Regions from separate parts of the Homo sapiens genome. Here region 1 is linked to region 2. The links are contacts of gene promoters, found by promoter capture Hi-C in blood cells and fetal thymus (Javierre and others, 2016). All regions are on one chromosome and are shown on one strand. The core of a region is centred on a gene start or on the middle of the fragment in contact, and the rest is flanking DNA. Distances in the headings are between cores, read along the strand shown.

Region 1 (6,116 bases), core at 569-3,068, 45 kb before region 2:
GTGCAGCCACAAGTGGAGGCTCTACCCAGAAGCAGCGGCTTTACACCTAATACTCCTGTGACTGACCCACATCCGAATACCCAGGGAGATTAGGTGGTTCATCACCTGAGAGCTTTGTTTTTACTTCAGACAGCTGCTTAAGGTTCTAATGGGTTCCTGTCACTAAAAGTGCAAGGAGATTAATGTGTCTAGGTTGTCAAAATCAACTTGATAGACATTTCTTCATAGCTAATATTTCCTTTCTTATCTGTTGGTTAAAAGAGCCGATCCTCTCACAGTTACAGTGAGTACAGCAGGAAAGAAATATTACATTTCTCTACTTTTTCCAATTCACCCCTACCAAGGTTCTTTGCAGTATTCTTTTCTTGTTTTTTGTGTTTTTTTCAGAGATGGGGTCTCACTCTGGGCTGGAGTGAAGTGGTGCAATCACAGCTCACTGCAGCCTTGACCTCCTGGGCTCAAGTGATCCTCCCACATCAGCCTCCAGAGTAACTGGGACCACAGGCACACATCACCACGCTCAGCTAATTTTTGTATTTTTTTGTAGAGATGGGGTTTCACCATATTGGCCAGGCTGATCTTGAACTCGTGGGCTGAAGCAAATCACCCACCTCAGCTTCCCAAAATGCTGGGATTACAGGCATGAGCCACAGTGCCTGGCCTAAAATACTCTTAAATGATGCACCCTCCATACATAGAAAATCTTCCTAGAAGTAATATCATCCTATATAATGAGATGAGGGTTAAGCTGGTGATAAAGTTAGGCATAAGTAGGGCATCACCCTAAATCCCGAGTTAAGAGGAGTTTGCTGTAGTTTGGGGAGCATATTGAAAACACATTGTTGGCTGTGGGCGGCAAGCCATCCAGGTGCTGAGGCAAGAGACCGAGGGCACGAGCTGTTCCAGTATAATAAAATATATAAAACAACAAGAGTTATACTAGATCTAGATCACAGACATGATTATATATGAATATCATTAATCATTAGTTATCCGGAGGCCTAACCGTCTCCCTGTGGTGCTGTGCTTCAGTGGTCACGCTCCTAGTCTGCCTTCATGTTCCATCCTGTACACCTGGCTCTGCCTTTTAGATAACAGTAGCAAAATTAGTGAAAGTACTAAAAGTCTCTGATACGCAGAAATAATGGCGTAAGCTGTCTCTCTCTCTCCCTGTCTATCTCTGCCTTGGCTGCCAGGCAGGGAAGGGCCCCCTGTCCAGTGGACACGTGACCCACGTGACCTTACCTGTCATTGGAGATGACTCACACTCTTTACCCTGCCCCTTTTGCTTTGTATCCAATAAATAACAGTGCAGCCAGACATTCGGGGCCTCTACCGGTCTCCGCCTCTTGGTGGTAGTGGTCCCCCAAGCCCAGCTGTCTTTTCTTTTACCTCTTTGTCTTGTGTCTTTATTTCTACAATCTCTCGTCTCCGCACATGGGGAGAAAAACCCACCGACCCTGTGGGGCTGGTCCCTACAGTTGGCCGGGCACGGTGGCTCACACTTGTAATCCCAGTACTCTGGGAGGCAGAGGTGGGTGGATTACCTGAGGTCAGGCCTTCAACACCAGCCTGGCCAACATGGCAAAACCCCGTCTCTACTAAAAATACAAAAATTAGCCAGGCATGGTGGCGCACACCTGTAATCCCAGCTACTCAGGAGGCTGAGGCAGGAGAATTGCTCCAACCCAGGAGGCAGAGGTTGCAGTGAGCCAAGATCACGTCACTGCACTCCAGCCTGGGCGACAGACCGAGACTCAGTCTCAAAAAAAAAAGAAGAAAAAAAAAAAGAAAATACATTGTCAAGACTCAAATCACAGAGTGGTGTTTCACATGATGGTAGAGACTGCTGATTGCCCTCTTGAACCCAGCTTCCATTTCTTCTTTTTCTTATTTATTTATATTTTGAGACGGAGTTTCTCTCTTGTTGCCCAGGCTGGAGTACAATGGAGCAATCTTGGCTCACTGCAACCTCTGCCTCCCAGGTTCAAGCAATTCTCCTGCCTCAGCCTCCTGAGTAGCTGGGATTACAGGCATGAGCCACCATGCCCGGCTAGTTTTTTTTTTTTTTTTTGTATTTTCAGTAGAGATGGGGTTTCTCCCTGTTGGTCAGGCTGGTCTCGAACTCCCAACCTCAGGTGACCCACCCACCTTGGCCTCCCAAAGTGCTGGAATTATAGGCGTGAGCCACTGTGCCCGGCCTTTGCCAGGTATCTTGACTAGAGGAAGATAGTGTTCTGGGTGGGAGACTCAAGAGGTCTGGTTACTGAAGATACAGATCTCACTTAAAGTAAGTAAATTGACATCTGGTTTCCAAATCAATCTATTATGAAATTGGCCCATGTCACTTTCATTTGGCCTGATCAAGTTTTTACTGAGAACTGAATTGGGCACAGTGGCTCACACCTGTAATCCCAGCACCTTAGGAGGCTAAGGCGGGAGGATCACTTGAGTCCAGGAGTTTGAAAACAGCCTGGGCAACATAACAAAGTCCCATCTCCACAAAAAATACAAACATTAGCCCAGGAAGCTGAAGCAGGAGGATCATTTGAGCCCAGGAGGTCGAGGCAGCAGTGAGCTATGATCGTGCCACTGCACTCCAGCCTGGATGGCAGAGCAAGACCCTGTCTCAAAAAAAAAAAAAAAAAAAATTTGAGAACATTGGACATTCAGTATCTCTCCCCTCTCTTGGGCATCATGTTTAGGTTCTGTCTCTAGAGCACATCTCAGAGCCTGCTACAGGTAAACAGGCCAGAAGTTAAATGCATGAAACAAATTAAATGCATGAAACATTCAAGCACATTCTTATTGGTGTAATTAAAATAAAAAAGTAAATGCATGAAACAGAAGCTGTTTACCCACAGCAGAGGAGGGGCAGAAATCATATCCAGTGTGCCATATCATTACTGCCTGCCAGCATTTCCTTAGGCTATTTCATTTATTTACTTTTTTTGAGATGGAGTCTCGCTCTGACTCCCAGGCTGGAGTGCAGTGGCATGATCTCCACTCACTGCAACCTCCACCTCCCAGGTTCAACCAATTTTCCTGCCTCAGCCTCCCAAGTAGCTGGGATTACAGGTGCCAGCCACCATGACTGCCTAATTTGTGTATTTTTAGTGAGAGACAGGGTTTCACTACGTTGGCCAGGCTGGTCTCAAACTCCTGACCTCGAGTGATCCACCCGCCTCGGCTTCCCAAAGTGCTGGGATTACAGGCGTGAGCCACCATGCCCACCTTCCTTTGGTTATTGAGATGGACAAAGAGTTACCCAGTAAGTTAAGAGCAGCTAGTTTTTAATGAATCTTAGCCCAGAATACAAAGCAGGGTGTAGCAGTTGCCTTAATGGTGATATAATTGTAAACAATAGCTTTTTCTTCCCCTATAAACTCGAGTTATAGGAAGCGTTTCAGAGAGAGGATAACACATTTGAATCTATTTTTTAAAAATCATCCTGAAAGCTAGCAGTATTGTTGTCGTTTAAAAGGTTCCTCATATACTCTTACCCTCAGCCAACCCACCATGTTTATCAATTCAAATTCTAGAACTTTCTTGACCCAAGAGATTTTGTAGGAAAAATTTCTCTTTTCAGATATTCAGCACGCAAGGATCATTTTTCTTGGTTTTGTTGCTGATCTTGCTGAACTTTCCATCAATGGCTGAGGGAGGAAGCTTGCATGATTCTTATGAGTTCTTCTGAGGCACTTTGACTGTGACCTGTAAGGGGGACAGAGAAGCCGTTAGATCTTCCTGCTTCCCTGTGATCTGTAGGTCCCCTCAGCTAGGAGCTGACTAAGTGTGAGCAGAAAGGGCTTTTCTTTTTTTCTCCCCAGACTGGAGTACAGGGGTGCAATTACAGCTCACTACTGCCTTGACCTCCTGGCTCAAGCGATCCTCCCACCTCAGCCTCCCAAGTAGCTGGGACTACAGGCATGCACCATAACACCCAGCTAACTTTTTGTATTTTTATTAGAGATGGGGTGTCACTATGTTGCCCAGGCTTGTCTTGAACTCCTGGGCTCAAGCGTTCCGCCTGTCTGGGCCTCCCAAAGTGCTAAGATTACAGGCGTGAGCCATGGCACGTGGCCTGTAACTATGATTTTGATGAAGAGTTATAGGCCAATGATGTCAGAATTTCTATTTCAAATCTGGGTCTTGCCCCTGGAGCTCCAAGCCCATCTCCCTAGATGTGTTCTCCACATCACCTCTTGGGTTTGGACAGGTACCCCAAACACAACCCTAAAGAGAACCACAGTACTTCATTCAGTGTTCCCTATCACAGGACTGGCGTCACCACTCAACCCCTCCTTGGAAACCTGGGTGCCATCTTTGATTCCTAGTTTTGCTTTTCCTCTCTATATCCAGAGTCGCCAATCCTACTCCTGGCTTCCTGTCACATATACCCTCTTTTCTCCACCTGCACTGCACCACTCCAATCCAAACCACCATCTTTCTCCTTGGAGCAGTCTCCTGACAGCTCCCTCATCCCTCCTCATACTGGATGGTCCATTCTCCCTAGGGCAAGCAGAGTGAGGTTTCTTAAATTTTTTTTTTTGAGACGGAGTCTTACTCTGTTGCCCAGGCTGGAGTGCAGTGGCGCAATCTCGGCTCACTGCAACCTCTGCCTCCCAGGTTCAAGCAATTCTCCTGTCTCAGCCTCCCGAGTAGGTGGGACTACAGGCACCTGCAACCAAGCCTTGCTAATTTTTGTGTTTTTAGTAGAGAAGGGATTTCACCTTGTTGGTCAGGCTGGTCTCGAACTCCTGACCTCAGGTGATTCACCTGCCTCAGTGTCCCAAAGTGCTGGGATTACAGGCGTGAGCCACCGCGCCTGGCCGCTTTCTTAAATTTTTAAACAACTTTCTTGAGATATGATTTATGCACAATCAAGTGTAATTGCTTTTAGAATATTTTAAGTTGTGCAATCATCACCATACTCCAGTTTTAGAACATCTGCATCATCTCCAAAAGCAATCTTGCACCCATGAGCAGCCACTACCCATTCCCCATGCCCTAGATGACCAGTAATAAGTTTCTGTCTCTATAGATTAAGCAGAGCAATCTTTTAAAAATACAAATTGAGTGGGCCAGGCACAGTGGTTCACACCTGTAATCCCAGAACTTTGGGAGGCCGAGGCAGGCAGATTACTTGAGGCCAGGAGTTCGAGATCAGCCTGGCCAACAGGGTGAAACCTCATCTCTACAAATACAAAAAATTAGCCAGGTGTGGTGGCAGGCGCCTGTAATCCCAGCTAGTCAAGTGGCTGAGGCATGAGAATCGCTTGAGCCCGGGAGGCGGAGGTTGCAGTGAGCCAAGATCACAGCACTGCACTCCAGCCTGAGCAACAGAGCAAGACTCTGGCTCAGAAAAAAAAAAAAAAAAATTGAGCCACCTAATTCTTCTACTTAAAATGCTCCCATAGCTGAGATCAAACTCCATTATCAAAGACATCAAACCCCACATCATGGCCAACAAGGGCCTGTGCATTCTGGCCTTGCTCTCTCCCCACTAACCACTACATCTTCCACCACCAGCAACCTTCCTGCAGTTCCTGGAAGAGCCATATTTCTCGCCATCACAGCTTTTCCAGAAGCTATGCTCTTTGTTTAGTACGTTCTTCTCTTCCTCCCCTCACCATCTCTACTTCCACTCATCCTTCAGGTATATCAGCTTAGATACCACCCTGTCACGTGGCCATCCTGGACATCGCCTCCTTAACACTAGTCATGTGCCAAGATTTAAGACTCACCAACTGAAGTTGGACCTTTTATCCGATGTCATAACTCAAAGCCCAGCACAGGCTGTCCACCCACATGGCCACCTCCTGCTGTTGTGGACTCTGCTCGGGCAGTGGATGAAGTGTACCCACTGGGAAGTGGGTGGGGTATACAGTAAACAAGACTGGCTGTGAGCTGATCTTTGTCATAGCTTTATGGTGGGGATACAGAGGCTCATTCTACTGTTTTTTTTTTTCCGTTTTGTTTTGTTTTGTTTTTGAGACAGAGTCTCGCTCTGTCTCCCACGCTGGAGTGCAGTGGCACCATCTCGGCTCACTGCAAGCTCCGCCTCCCGAGTTCACACCATTCTCCTGCCTCAGCCTCCCAAGTAGCTGGGATTA
Region 2 (6,213 bases), core at 2,801-5,300:
ACATGGCAAAACCCCATCTCTATAAAAATTATAAAAAATTGGCTGGCTGCAGTGCCTTAATCCCAGCACTTTGGGAGGCCAGGGCAGGTGGATCACCTGAGGCCAGGAGTTCAAGACCAGCCAGCCTGGCCAACATGGCGAAACCTCATCTCTACTAAGAATACAAAAAAATTAGCCAGGCGTGGTGGTGGGCACCTGTAATCCTAGCTACTCAGGAGGCTCAAGCAGGAGAATCGCTTGAACCCAGGAGGTGGAGGTTAGAGTGAGCCAAGATCACACCACTGCACTCCACCCTGGGCAACAGAGCAAGAGTCTGTCTCAAATAAATAAAATAAAATAAAAAATACAAAAATTAGTCAGGTGTGGTGGGGTATGCCTGTAGTCTCAGCTACTTGGAAGACTGAAGTAGGAGGATAACTTGTTGACTGAGCCTGGGAGGTTGAGGCTGCAGTGAGCACTACTACACTCCAGCCTGGGCAACAGTGAGAGACCCTGTCTCAAAACAAAAACAAAAACAGAAAGAGAGGGTAAGAATAAAGATGCAAGTTTTAATTCACCCCAAACTCCCATTCTACTTTACCACAATCTAGCTCACCCCTTCAGGAAACAAACTGCAAATACAACAGCATCCATATCAAATGGAGTTTGATCACCAAGACACTGCAAGTCCACAGCGTCACTGTTATCCCAGCTCCTGCTTAAGGCTGCAGTCAATATGGAGGCACCAGTGGCCATGAAGCCAGCACTGCCTGTGGCTGCAGAAGCCTCACCCCATTTGGTCCTCACAGCAATTCGGTGATGCAGATGGAATTTTACCCCCCACATTTTTTTTTTTTTTTGAGATGGAGTCTCGCTCTGTCACCCAGGCTGGAATGCAGTAGTGTGATCTCGGCTCACTGCAACCTCTGCCTCCCAGGTTCAAGTGATGCTCCTGCCTCAGCCTCCCAAGTAGCTGGGATTACAGGTGCGCGCCACCATGCCCAGCTAATTTTTGTATTTTCAGTAGAGACAGGGTTTCACTATGTTGGCCAGGCTAGTCTCGAACTCCTGACCTCGTGATCCGCCTGCTTCAGTCTTGCAAAATGCTGGGATTACAGGTGTGAGCCACTGCACCCAGCCATTTTACCCCATTTTACAGATGAGGCAGCTGAGGTGCAGAGTCCACTGCTGTATGCACCATCCCTCTTCCCTGCTGAGTCAGCAATAAGGCCACACTGCAAACAGCCCAGGGGGCTCTAAGAGGTCCAGTTCCAGCACGGCGCCACCAGAGTAGAATGCTCTGTGGTCCTTGGAAAGGGTTAAATGAGATCTGAACGTACTCAGAATGATAACCCAGGTACATTGTTCAGTGAGACGGCGAGCTTCAGAATATAAGTGGTTGCATCTCATTTATGTTAAAAAAAAAAAAAAGTCTGGTGTGCTTGCATTCTCTCTCTCTCTCTCTTGCTGCAGGCACTTGTAAATGCAAACAAAATGTCTACAAGAGACACACCCACCTGTTCACAGTGCTCTTGGAGGGAGTAAAATGGGGTATCCAGAGAGGTTTATTTATTTATTTATTTTTTAAGAGATGGGTTCTTGCTCCATTGCCCAGGCTGGAGTGCAGTGGCACAATCATAGTTCACTGCAGCCTTACATCTAATCTCAAGCGATCTTCCCACCTTGGCATCCCAAAGTGCTGGAATTACAGGCATGAATCACCTTGACTGACCATGTCCAGAGAGTTGTAAGTCAGTCCTCTGCAATTTTATACAGTGGGCATGTGTTACTTTAATGATCTCAAAAAGTCTGATAAAGAAAAGCAGCCACAGGGAATTGACTCGGCTCCTCCAGCCTACACCCACAGAGTAAATCTGGAGAACAGGATGTGTTACCTATGGGCCTGGGTGCATATCTGGACCCAGCTGCCTCATCTGCATGTGATAAAGGATAAAGATTTTAATCAGATCCTGTGGCCAGAAGGGTTCCTAGGGCGATGGCTGTTCCTTGAGGACATTTCTGAGACAGGGTCTTGTTCTGTTGCTCAGACTAAGTGTAGTGGCCCAATCATAGCTCACTGCAGCCTCGAACTCCTAGGCTCAAGTGATCCTCCCACCTCGGCCTCCCATATAGCTGGGACTACAGGCATGTGCCACCGCACCTGACTAATTTACTTTTTTAGTAGAGACTAGACACAGGGTCTTGCTATGTTGCCCAGGCTGGTCTCGAAATCCTAGGCTCAAGGGATCATCCCACCTCAGCCTCCCATATAGCTGGGACTACAGGCATGTGCCACCGCACCTAACTAATTTACTTTTTTAGTAGAGACTAGAGACAGGGTCTTGCTATGTTGCCCAGGCTGGTCTCGAAATCCTAGGCTCAACGGATCATCCCACCTCGGCCTCCCAAAATGCTGGGATTTACAGGCATGAGCTACTGCACCTGGCCTCTGCTAGATCTTTTGATGCTCAAGTCTTCCAAGCATGAACTTGCACAGGCTGCCAAGGGAGCCATAGCTGCTGCCTTTTTAGCTTGTGTTATGCAAAAGATTTTATTTTATCCTTTTAAAAATTCCCTTGCAAATGACCTTTGTAACATCCCCTAAAATCACACGCATGTGCCTTTACCCATCACCTATATCCAGATTTGCAGCCACACTCAGGGCCAGACCAGCAGGTGTGCTGTTGAAAGCAGCTGGCTAGGAGCCAGCTCTACAGCATCCCAAATCAGCAATAGTCCCAGAGGATCGGTGGTCCCTTTGTTCCCACCCAGAGTCACAACATACCATGGAATGTTCTGGTTAGGGGCTTACTCCTGGAAGTTCAGCTGTGAACCCCAACTATGCCACTGACTTTGGTCTTTAGGTGAGTCACTAAACCTCTTTGTGACTCAGTCTCTTCATCTGTAAAATGGAGAATTACAGTCCCTTCCTACTGAGGCTGTTGTAAAAATTACCTTAAATTGCAAAACAGGTAGACGCTTAGAACAGTGCTGCACAAAGGCTGTGCAGACAGGACAGGAGCTGTGATTAACTATGAAGTGACTGGTTGATGAGGGCCTGTGTGAACCTAACCCTCAGAGCGCCTTTCCATTTATAGGAGAAAAAGCTTAAGTCAGAGAAGGCAGCCAACATGCACTGGCACAAACAAAACAAACTCTTTCATAACCAATTTCAGCCTCTGTGAAGTCTAGAACTTTAACCAAACTCAAAGATCAAAACAAAAAATATTCCAAAGTATTACTGATTGAGCAATCAATAAATGGACCACAGGAATCAGTTTTATCCTGGAAAGCTCCTCCTTGGTTTGGTCGAAGCCGGCGTTGGAAGCCGCAGACACCCCTTGGGGTCGGCCCCCTGGGGCCGAAGGTCCTCCAGGATTCCCTACTCCCAGCAATGGAAGCAGCCGAGCGTGGCCTCGCCCATGGTGAACTGGAGAACGTGGCTGCAAATCACCTCTTTCCTGGTTTTTCCTTTTGAACTCCTTGGATGAGGGCATGAGTCAGGGGGTAAAGGGGATGACTAAGGAAAAGACAGGAAAGTTCCTGCAAAGAGGGACTTGGTCGCGTCTTCTGAGTGGGTGAGGGTGGGGACCCTGCGGAGACCCGAAAGCAAGGACCATGGGGAGAACGGAACCCCGAGAGTTGGCCCTGGAAAACAGACCGAGGCTGGGCGAAGACGGAGAGGGGGCCCAAGTCACGGGGAAATGGGACGGGGACTGTCAGAGGCGGCGAAGGGGCTAAAATGCTTGCAGGAGAGGAGGGGGCAGATGTGCTTCCAGGTCAGCCTCTGCAAACCCCTCGAGCCCCAGATGAGTACACTAAGGCCCACGGCGGCGCGGGGCCTTCCTAGGGGCCTGCGGGGGACTCGGGCCGGAAAACAAAGCGCGAGCCCGGCCGGTGGGCTCACCTGGTTGCAGAAGACCTCGGGCTGCTGGTTGGGGGCAGGCACGGCCTGGGTGGCGGCGGCTGACAAGAGGCGGCGGCCCAGGCGGGGCCCGAAGCGGGCGGCAGCGCGCAACATCGCAGCGGGCTAGCGGACAGCGAGCGGACCGAGAGCAGAGCTAGGGTCTCAGGGCCACTGAGCCGACCCCGCTCCCCGCCCCGCGCGGCAGCCAATGGAAAGGCGGGGGCGGGCCGGGGGCGGGGCTGCCTCTACCATTCCTCGGGATGGGGCGCGCAGCTGATGCAAGCGAAGCGGGTGGCGCTAGGTACCCCCGGCCCGTGGCTGCCCCCTGGCTCGCGCGACGCCTCCGCGCCCGCCACCGCCCTCCGCCTGTGCGGAAAGACCCGGCCCCGCGAACGCAGCTCGCCTTGGTTGAGCCCCCAATGTGTGCCTTTGACCCCAATGTGAACAGGCCCGAGCCAGGGCGACCCTGACCTTCCCGGCTGATGCTCCAGGTGAAGAGACCGGCCGTAAACCCAAAAGCGAGATCATTTCGGAGGTGAAGGAGATGAACGAGGTGACATGGATGGGGCAGACGGCACTGCTTTTATAAGTACCATGGTCAGGAAATGACAAGTGAGACCTGAATGATGACAGGGAACAGCAAGGGCAAAGGCCAGGAGATGAGACCACCTGGCACGTGTTAGAGAAATGGAAAGAATGAATGGAGCCCAGTTAACAAGGAGAGAGGCGGCCAGGGCAAGGGCAGGGACGGTCTTGGAAGCAGCGGTTCAGAGTTTAGAACAGGATGATTTGCATGATTTGCTTATTCTTTTTTTTTTTTTTTTTTTTGAGACGGAGTCTCACTGTGTCGCCTAGGCTGGAGTGCAGTGGCACGATCTCGGCTCACTGCAAGCTCTGCCTCCCGGGTTCACACCAGTCTCCTGCCTCCGCCTCCGGAGTAGCTGGGACCACAGGCGCCTGCCACCACGCCCGGCTAATTTTTTGTATTTTCAGTAGAGACGGGGTTTCACCGTGTTAGCCAGGATGGTCTCGATCTCCTCACCTCATGATCCGCCTGCCTCGGCCTCCCAAAGTGCTGGGATTACAGGCGTGAGCCACCGCGCCCGGCGGTGGGACTCTGATTTCAACACCAGATTCCACCAAAGTCGCCCTGGGGGCTCAGCACCATTCCACACAAACCAGAGGAAGAAAAGGCATGGGGGTGGCCCATGGGAGGTTTCTGTGGGCTGAGCCTGCTCGCCTGGCTGGATTTCAATCACACAACCATGCCTCCATGCAAAAGAGTCTGGGAAATGAGTGGCCCCTGTGCCAGGAAGAAGGGAAATAGGTTTGGAGATCAGCTGCAGAGATAATCTGATAACCAAGACTCCCTTCCTTCTCTGAATTCAGCCATGCAGGCCCCACTTCCCCTTCCCAATGGCGCCTTGCTTTTTTTTTTTAGATGGGGTTTCACTCTTGTTGCCCAGGCTGGCACCATGTGGGCTCACTGCAACTTCCACCTCCCAGGTTCTAGCGATTCTCCTGTCTCAGCCTCCCAAGTGGCTGGGATTACAGGCGCATGCCACCACACTTGGTTAATTTTTGTATTTTTAGTAGAGATGGGGTTTCATCATATTGGTCAAGCTGGTCTCGAACTCCTGACCTTAGGTGATCCGCCCACCTCGGCCTCCCAAAGTTCTGGGATTACAGGCATGAGCCACCGTGCCAGGTACTTTTTTTCCCTTAATACTGTGTGTGGAGATCGTTTTGTCACAGCACACAAGGACTATGTCCCCATTCTCTTCAACAGTTTCATGGTATTCCTCTGGATACATGAGGTAGTTTTATTTCATGAATTTCCTATGATGGACATTTAGGTTGTTTCCAATCTTTTGCCACTACAAACAATGCCACAATGTATGCTCTTGATTTGCTTAAGAAATTAATAGAAATGAGGCTGGCACCATGACTCGTGCCTGTAATCTCAGCACTCTGGGGGGGAAGCTGAGGCGGGTAGATCACTTGAGGTGAGGAGTTCGAGACCAGCCTGGCCAACATGGTGAAACCCCATCTCTACTAAACACACACACACACACACACACACACACACACACACACACACACACACACACACAATTAGCCAGGAATGGTCGCAGTGCCTGTAATCCCAGCTACTCCAGAAGGTGAGGCAGGAGATTGCTTGAATCTGGGAGACAGAGGTTGCAGTGAGCCAAGAGCTGAGATCGTGCCACTGAACTCCAGCCTGGGTGATAGAGTGAGACTACGTCTCAAAAAAAAAAAAAAAAGAAAAAAAAAAAGAAAAAAAAAAGAAAGAAAAGAAAAGAAAG

Evidence for each region. The method cuts DNA at HindIII sites, captures the fragments that hold promoters and counts their contacts. A CHiCAGO score of 5 or more calls a contact.
Region 1: a fragment that was not itself captured here is called in contact with the fragment with the promoter of ALDH2 in region 2 in 2 of 17 cell types (endothelial precursors and M2 macrophages); the score reaches 6.4 in endothelial precursors.

Annotation. Positions count from the first base shown.
Region 1 is chr12:111,807,141-111,813,256 of GRCh38, reverse strand. It overlaps ALDH2 (aldehyde dehydrogenase 2 family member), which reads right to left. Exons shown (of 13, transcript NM_000690.4): 13 at 1-3,714. The coding sequence ends at 3,682. Among named protein-coding and RNA genes, the nearest start is that of MIR6761, 10 kb to the right of the region's middle. The HindIII fragment of the contact is 3,706 bases long and covers 1-3,671 here.
Region 2 is chr12:111,764,770-111,770,982 of GRCh38, reverse strand. ALDH2 (aldehyde dehydrogenase 2 family member) reads right to left here and starts at 4,050. Exons shown (of 13, transcript NM_000690.4): 1 at 3,887-4,050. The coding sequence starts at 4,000. RefSeq lists a silencer at 4,043-4,362 and an enhancer at 3,822-4,591. The HindIII fragment of the contact is 5,400 bases long and covers 3,089-6,213 here.